Regions from separate parts of the Homo sapiens genome. Here region 1 is linked to region 2. Evidence: promoter capture Hi-C in 16 types of primary human blood cells and fetal thymus (Javierre and others, 2016). All regions are on one chromosome and are shown on one strand. Each heading gives the region's core, a stretch centred on a gene start or on the middle of the fragment in contact. The rest is flanking DNA. Distances are from core to core; before and after follow the strand shown. Region 1 has its middle 13 kb from the start of ANKRD28. Region 2 holds the start of HACL1 (2-hydroxyacyl-CoA lyase 1).

The links. The method cuts DNA at HindIII sites, captures the fragments that hold promoters and counts their contacts. A CHiCAGO score of 5 or more calls a contact.
Region 1: a fragment that was not itself captured here is called in contact with the fragment with the promoter of HACL1 in region 2 in 1 of 17 cell types (monocytes); the score reaches 6.1 in monocytes.

What each region holds. Positions count from the first base shown.
Region 1 is chr3:15,809,535-15,812,525 of GRCh38, reverse strand. It overlaps a transcript of ANKRD28 not described here. Among named protein-coding and RNA genes, the nearest start is that of ANKRD28, 13 kb to the right of the region's middle. The HindIII fragment of the contact is 4,948 bases long and covers 1-2,991 here.
Region 2 is chr3:15,600,042-15,603,167 of GRCh38, reverse strand. It overlaps HACL1 (2-hydroxyacyl-CoA lyase 1), which reads left to right and starts at 1,599. Exons shown (of 17, transcript NM_012260.4): 1 at 1,599-1,785; 2 at 1,974-2,078. The coding sequence starts at 1,705. It overlaps BTD (biotinidase), which reads right to left and starts at 1,423. Exons shown (of 4, transcript NM_001370658.1): 1 at 1,274-1,423. RefSeq lists a silencer at 1,151-1,210 and an enhancer at 1,052-1,694. The HindIII fragment of the contact is 4,903 bases long and covers 1-3,126 here.

The DNA.
Region 1 (2,991 bases), core at 81-2,580, 210 kb before region 2:
CTCAGTATTATATAGCCAGTTTACCTTTTCTTTCCTGGAATGTGTGTTGGAGAAAAGGCAGAGTCACAAATCATTTAGCTAATTTTGCTTTTAATAACTGTATAAATTGTAATTATCATCTTTTACCACTGGATGGTGCTTTTCCATTGGTTACTGCAAACCCTTTCTAAATTTACCTAAGGGCACCATTTGAAAATTCATTTAAAAAACAAATGAAATTAAGATAATGGTATAGTTTCCCATCTCAGCCTCCCAAGTAGCTGGGACTACAGGTGTACACCGCTGTGCCCAGCTCTATGATGCCATCTTTGATTATCATCTTAGAAACATTTTATTGTTGTTTTGGGTTTCGTTTTGTTTTGTTTTGTTTTGTTTGCCAGAGTCTCACTCTGTTGCCCAGGCTGGAGTGCAGTGCCTCAATCTCAGCTCACTGCAACCTCAGCCTCCTGGGTTCAAGCGATTCTCCGACCTCAGCCTCCTGAGTAGCTGGGACTACAGGTGCGTACCACCACGCCTGGCTAATTTTTCTATTTTTAGTAAAGATAGGGTTTTGCTGTGTTGGCCAGACTGGTCTTGAACTCCTAACTGAAGTGATCCACCCACCTTGACCTCCCAAAGTGCTGGGATTACAGGCGTGAGCCACTGTGCCTGGCTTAGAAACATTTTAAATGTATTAACTTTTTAGGTGGTACTATCATTTACATGGCATCTATAGAAAACCACAATTTCTTAATTTATAAGGTTAAAATAAAGGTTTTAAAAAAATTGTCCCTGGCCAGGCGCAGTGGCTCACACCTGTAATCCCAGTACTTTGGGAGGCCAAGGTGGGCGGATCACGAGGTCAAGAGATCAAGACCATCCTGGCCAACATGGTGAAACCCCGTCTCTACCAAAAATACAAAAATTAGCTGGGCATGGTGGCGTGCACCTGCAGTCCCAGCTCCTCTGGAGGCTGAGGCAGGAGAATCGCTTGAACCCAGGAGACAGAGGTTGCAGTGACCTGAGATTGTGCCACTGCACTCCAGCCTGGGCAACAGAGCAAGACTCTATCTCAAAATAAAGAAAAATTGTCCCTGGTAATTATTTTGTCTTTTCTCCTATCCAGTAGCTGTTCAGACTCCTTTCACTGAAGCCCTTTTATTTCACAAATACTATTTTCAAATTCTGCTTTTTTAGCTACCAAATGACTTTTTGTTAGCTACCCTACTTAAATGAGTTGAGTACTTAAGTCTATAGAGTCTATTTGTGATTGTAACAGATTATGGAGATCTTAATTCAGGGAAATAATTTCTTCTAATAAAGCATTCTCTTATTCTTTTAAAGATCAAAATAAAACAGACTCTAGAATAACAGTGTCCCTTAACAACTTACTCTGAGGCCTTGTTTCTCCAGTCTGGTGTGCTGTTATTTCCTTTTCTGTTCTTTGTAGGGTTATTTAGATAAAAAATAAAGTCATAAAAACAAGCATCTTAAACTACCCTGTTCTGTAGTCTGCTCTTCATTTGCTATTTTATAGCTTTTGAGTTATGAATTTATAGGGGATTGTAGGTCAGCAAGTTTAAAGTCACTCACAGTAGGCTTGGTTTGCCTTTGAGTCTCAGGCTTACAGGAGTTATGGGTTAAATGACTGGCTTTGCAGGTTTGCTTCTTGGCAGTGAGTCTTCACATAGGCAGTGTTCAAGTTGTGGTCTTAACTCTTAGAATGTGAACTTTGTCATGTAACCACTCTAGGCCTTATTTTTCTTACCTATAAAGTTGTGATTTTGTTTAGCAAATAAGGATCATGGCTAAGGACAATGTTACTTAGGGGAAAAAAAAAAAAAAGGAGAGAACAAATTACTCATAATCCTGCCACTGACCTAACTCATGTAGTGTTGATGCTAAAAATGAAAAAGAAAAAAAGTCTTCTATTTAACGTAATTAAGATTATTTTGTTTATACTGCAGTGTTGTATTCCATATAATATTTTTTAGTATATCCCATGTTTTAGAAATTCTTTAAAGATTTTATTTTTAAATATTAGATATAGTTTCACTGTGTGATATATACTGTATTTTAAATCATTTTATTGTTCAGCATTTAAATTTTCAGTCTTTTGTTGTAAATAATGCTTCACTGAAATCTTGATATGTAAATTTTTATAGGCCTCACATTATTTTCTTATGTCTCAGTTCCTACAAGTAGAAATGCTAGCTTAAAGTTTGAAATACTTATCAATGGTATTGATAGCTGTTGGCAAGTTTTTTTTTTTTCTCCCAGAGAAGTTGTCCCAGTTTACTGTTTCACCATCCTACATGGCCTCTGGTTTAAACTAATTGTGATAGCCTACTGACTGTTTTCTCTGCCTTTAGTATCACCTTATTTTTAGGTCATCCTGACACTGTATGCACAGTAAGTTCTTTAAGATACAAGTCTTATTTTATAACTTTTTGCCTTAAAATTCTATAGGTTAAAGTGTATTTACTCGGTGTCATTCAACACCCTTCATGATCTCGCTGCTGTCTAATTTTCCACCTTATTTTATGCAAACCTATACATTTTGTGGATGAGGAGGTGGGAGGGGGATGTGCTAGGCAGAGGAAACAGCATCTGCAAGGGCATAGCTGCATGTAGTGGCATGGTATACTTGAATTGCAACAAGCACATTGATATATGTGAAACTTAAAGGCAGGCTGCTGGAAGTCTTTAGTATAGCATACTCAAACAAAATAGTTGACTAAATAAAAGTAGACAACATTTTATCTATGATTTAGAAAAGTAACTGGTGGTGTAGATAATTGTTAATCAGGACTTTTGGTTACAAATGACAGAAATCCAACTCAAATTGGCTTAAATGCAAAAGTATATTTACTGGCCAGGCAAGCAGAGCTAGATCCAGGACTTGGTGACAGTGGGTTTCCCATCCTCCCCCATTCTTTCATTCCTCCTATGAGCAGTTTTTGCTTACTGGGATTGTGTCCTCACAATCCCGAAAGAAAAGAGAGTATTTTT
Region 2 (3,126 bases), core at 350-2,849:
ATCTCATCTTGAATTATAGCTCCCATAATCCCCACATGTGGTGAGAGGGACCCAGTGGGAAGTAACTGAATCATGGGGAGGGGATTTTTCCCATGCTGTTCTAATGATAGTAAGTCTCATGAGATCTGATGGTTTTATAAAGGGCAGTTCCCCTGCACACGCTCTCTTGCCTGCCACCATGTAAGACATGCCTTTGCTCCTCCTTCACCTTCTGCCATGATTGTGAGGCCTCCGTAGCCATTTGGAACTGTGAGACCATTAAACCTCTTTTTCTTTATAAATTACCCAGTTTTGGGTATTTCTTTATAGCAGTATGAAAATGGACTAACACCGTCCACATATGCAGGGAGGCAACCACTTCACTCTCCTCTGCTTGGGGTGGGGTTGAGGGGTTGAGAAAAAGAGGGGAAGACCTTTTGAAAAGACCCAGGACTACAGTTTGAAAATGTCTGGGTTTAGAAATCGTTTCACTTCCAGTGCTTCTCACTCATTTCACTACCCATGACCCACTCCCCTCTCATCTCTTTACTGTCCACTTATCACTGTTCTTTTTGCTTAAAATGACTCCAAATCCTCAAAAAATTAAAAGTTCCACTGTTTATTACAATTGGAAATTTTATGTTTATTGTCACTGAGCAGAGGGTCTAATGACTCCAAGGCAGTAGTTTCAGATATTGCACATTGCAAACGATTTTCACACAAAAATGTTTTAAAAGGCTATCGGGTGCAGGGCTGGTTGTAGGTAGGGACCCAACCTAAGAATTATGAAACGCCATAGTTCCTAATTTTGGAAAGATATTAGCGGAGAGTAATATGGATTAGTAGCAAGGGCTGGAGAAAACAGTGCTCTATACTACCTTCAAGGTGCTCTTTTCATCGCTTGTGACCCAATGGCTGAATAGTGGGTAGGAAACAGGATTCAGGATCTCAGGCACGGTCTGGATCTACTGACTCTGAGCGTCATTTTATCTCTTGCTGGGGTACACATCTGCTTCTGGATTTAAGTAACGTGCGCTACAATAATTTAAGGACTATAAAACCACAAGGTTATGAGAGCGTAAACCACAAAGCGTGTAAGTAAATGCCTAGAAAACGCAACGCGGTAGCACAGCAGCAACGCACAAACAGCCCCAGCAAACGACGCGCGCCGGGCTTCCCAGCTCCCGGCAGCCTTTGCGCAGCCCTCCCCAAGTCCAACTGGGCGCCCGGGGCGGGGTCTGGACCGCACGCCCTTACCACACCCCCTCCGCGCCGCACCACGCCCCCTCCGTACCTGCTCTTAGCGCGCCTTCCGCCCTGAATATGCGCATGCGCCATTCTCCCTTTACAGCCCCGAAAACGCTCCAGCTGGCCGACTCGGAGACAATGGCGAGAGGCCTCAGAGTTCGGCTTCTTACCTGCTTTGCATAGGCAGCAATCTCCTGCTAGTCCCGCCTCCCTCTGGCATTCTGGCGCGCGAATGGAGGAGCCGAGAAGAGAGCGCAGTTCTGATTGGAGAACGCGCGTGTTTACATTCTCACCTCTCCCGGGAAGTGGACGAATTTAGACCGCCTCTTCCTTCCCGTTGTTTAAGGCAGTTGGTTGCCCTCCTGTCCGTCAGAGGTGCAGTACCAGAGGTGGCGTGCTGCCGATTTCGCGTTTGCCTTGCTGGATGATTCCGCTTGTTTGCCGGCTGCGTGAGTGCTTAGAGCTTTTCGGTGGAAGATGCCGGACAGTAACTTCGCAGAGCGCAGCGAGGAGCAGGTGTCTGGTGCTAAAGTCATCGCTCAGGCCCTGAAAACGCAAGTACGATGGACCTTCCTGGAATGAAAGGCTCCTACGGAAGCTGGCGGGGACCGCGATGTTGTCTTGGAGACGAGTAGAAATGGGCGATGGGGGTCGGGGGGTTTTCCTTTTAGCGCCCGGGAGGGAGGGAAGGATGTGGCGATATGGTGGGGCCTTGGGAGTTTACTCCCCTGTTCTTCGTTCCTCAGGATGTGGAGTACATATTTGGCATCGTAGGCATCCCAGTGACCGAAATCGCCATTGCTGCCCAGCAGCTAGGCATCAAGTACATCGGGATGAGGAATGAGCAAGCGGTGAGTATGGACTCAGGTGGCTGAATGCGTTACTGGGAATGATCAGTAATAGCGGTAGGTATGCATTGCAAACACCCAGATAGCGCTTACCACTCTTCTGCTACTTTACATATATCATATCAATCACTGTTGAATATTAACTGTTGTTACACCAAGTTGACAGATGAGAAAAGACACAGGTTAAGTAAAACTTGCCTTTGGTGACACAGCTGGTAGTAGCAGAGCCAGGGTTTGAACCCACGTATTCTGGGTCTGAGTCCATTCTCTTACTACTATACTGTATGTCATGATTGGAATGGACAGTTTATGAGTAAAGTCTGACTTCCCTATTAGGCTACAAGCTCCATTAGAGCAGGGATATTATTTCTTCACGACACATCTGTACCCCCAGTGCTTAGTGTGGTGCCTGCATAAGAAAGGTGTTCAGAGATTACCTGTGGGATAAATGAGTGAAGGCCAAGGCTTTGTTGTATGATTGGTTCGGGGCAGGGTGGAGGATATCACAAATGGTAGTGCCTTGATGGAAACTCAGATGGCTCAGATCCTAGCCTGATGCTTTTTCCACCACATCATGCTGCCACCTTTCTTAGAGGCTTATTTGGAAGCAGGATAAGGAAGATACGACGTTTTGTCAATCCACTTTAAGTGCATCCTCTGCCAATCCACCTTGCTCTTCTCTCAGTAGTGCGGGCTTGAAAGGTCAAGAATCCACTTCTGTGATATCACATACTCTCAGTCCAGCTGAGGCTAAATATTCCTGCTTTACACTCCCACCGTTGCCTTCTAATTTAAATTCTTGCCTCCTCTTGCCCAAACAACTGCCTGGCCACCCTAAGTGGTGCCTTTTGCCATCATACATGAGTGCCTGGAGGGCAGAAGTTGTGATTCATTTGTTATATCACCACAGTGCCTGGCTTGGTTTGTGCTTTCACGTGGTGTAGATGCTTAATATTATACATTATTTATTAATTGAATGACATTCTTTATTGAATGACATTCTTTATTGAATGACATTCTTTATCTACAAGGTTTGAGATTTGTATTTTTT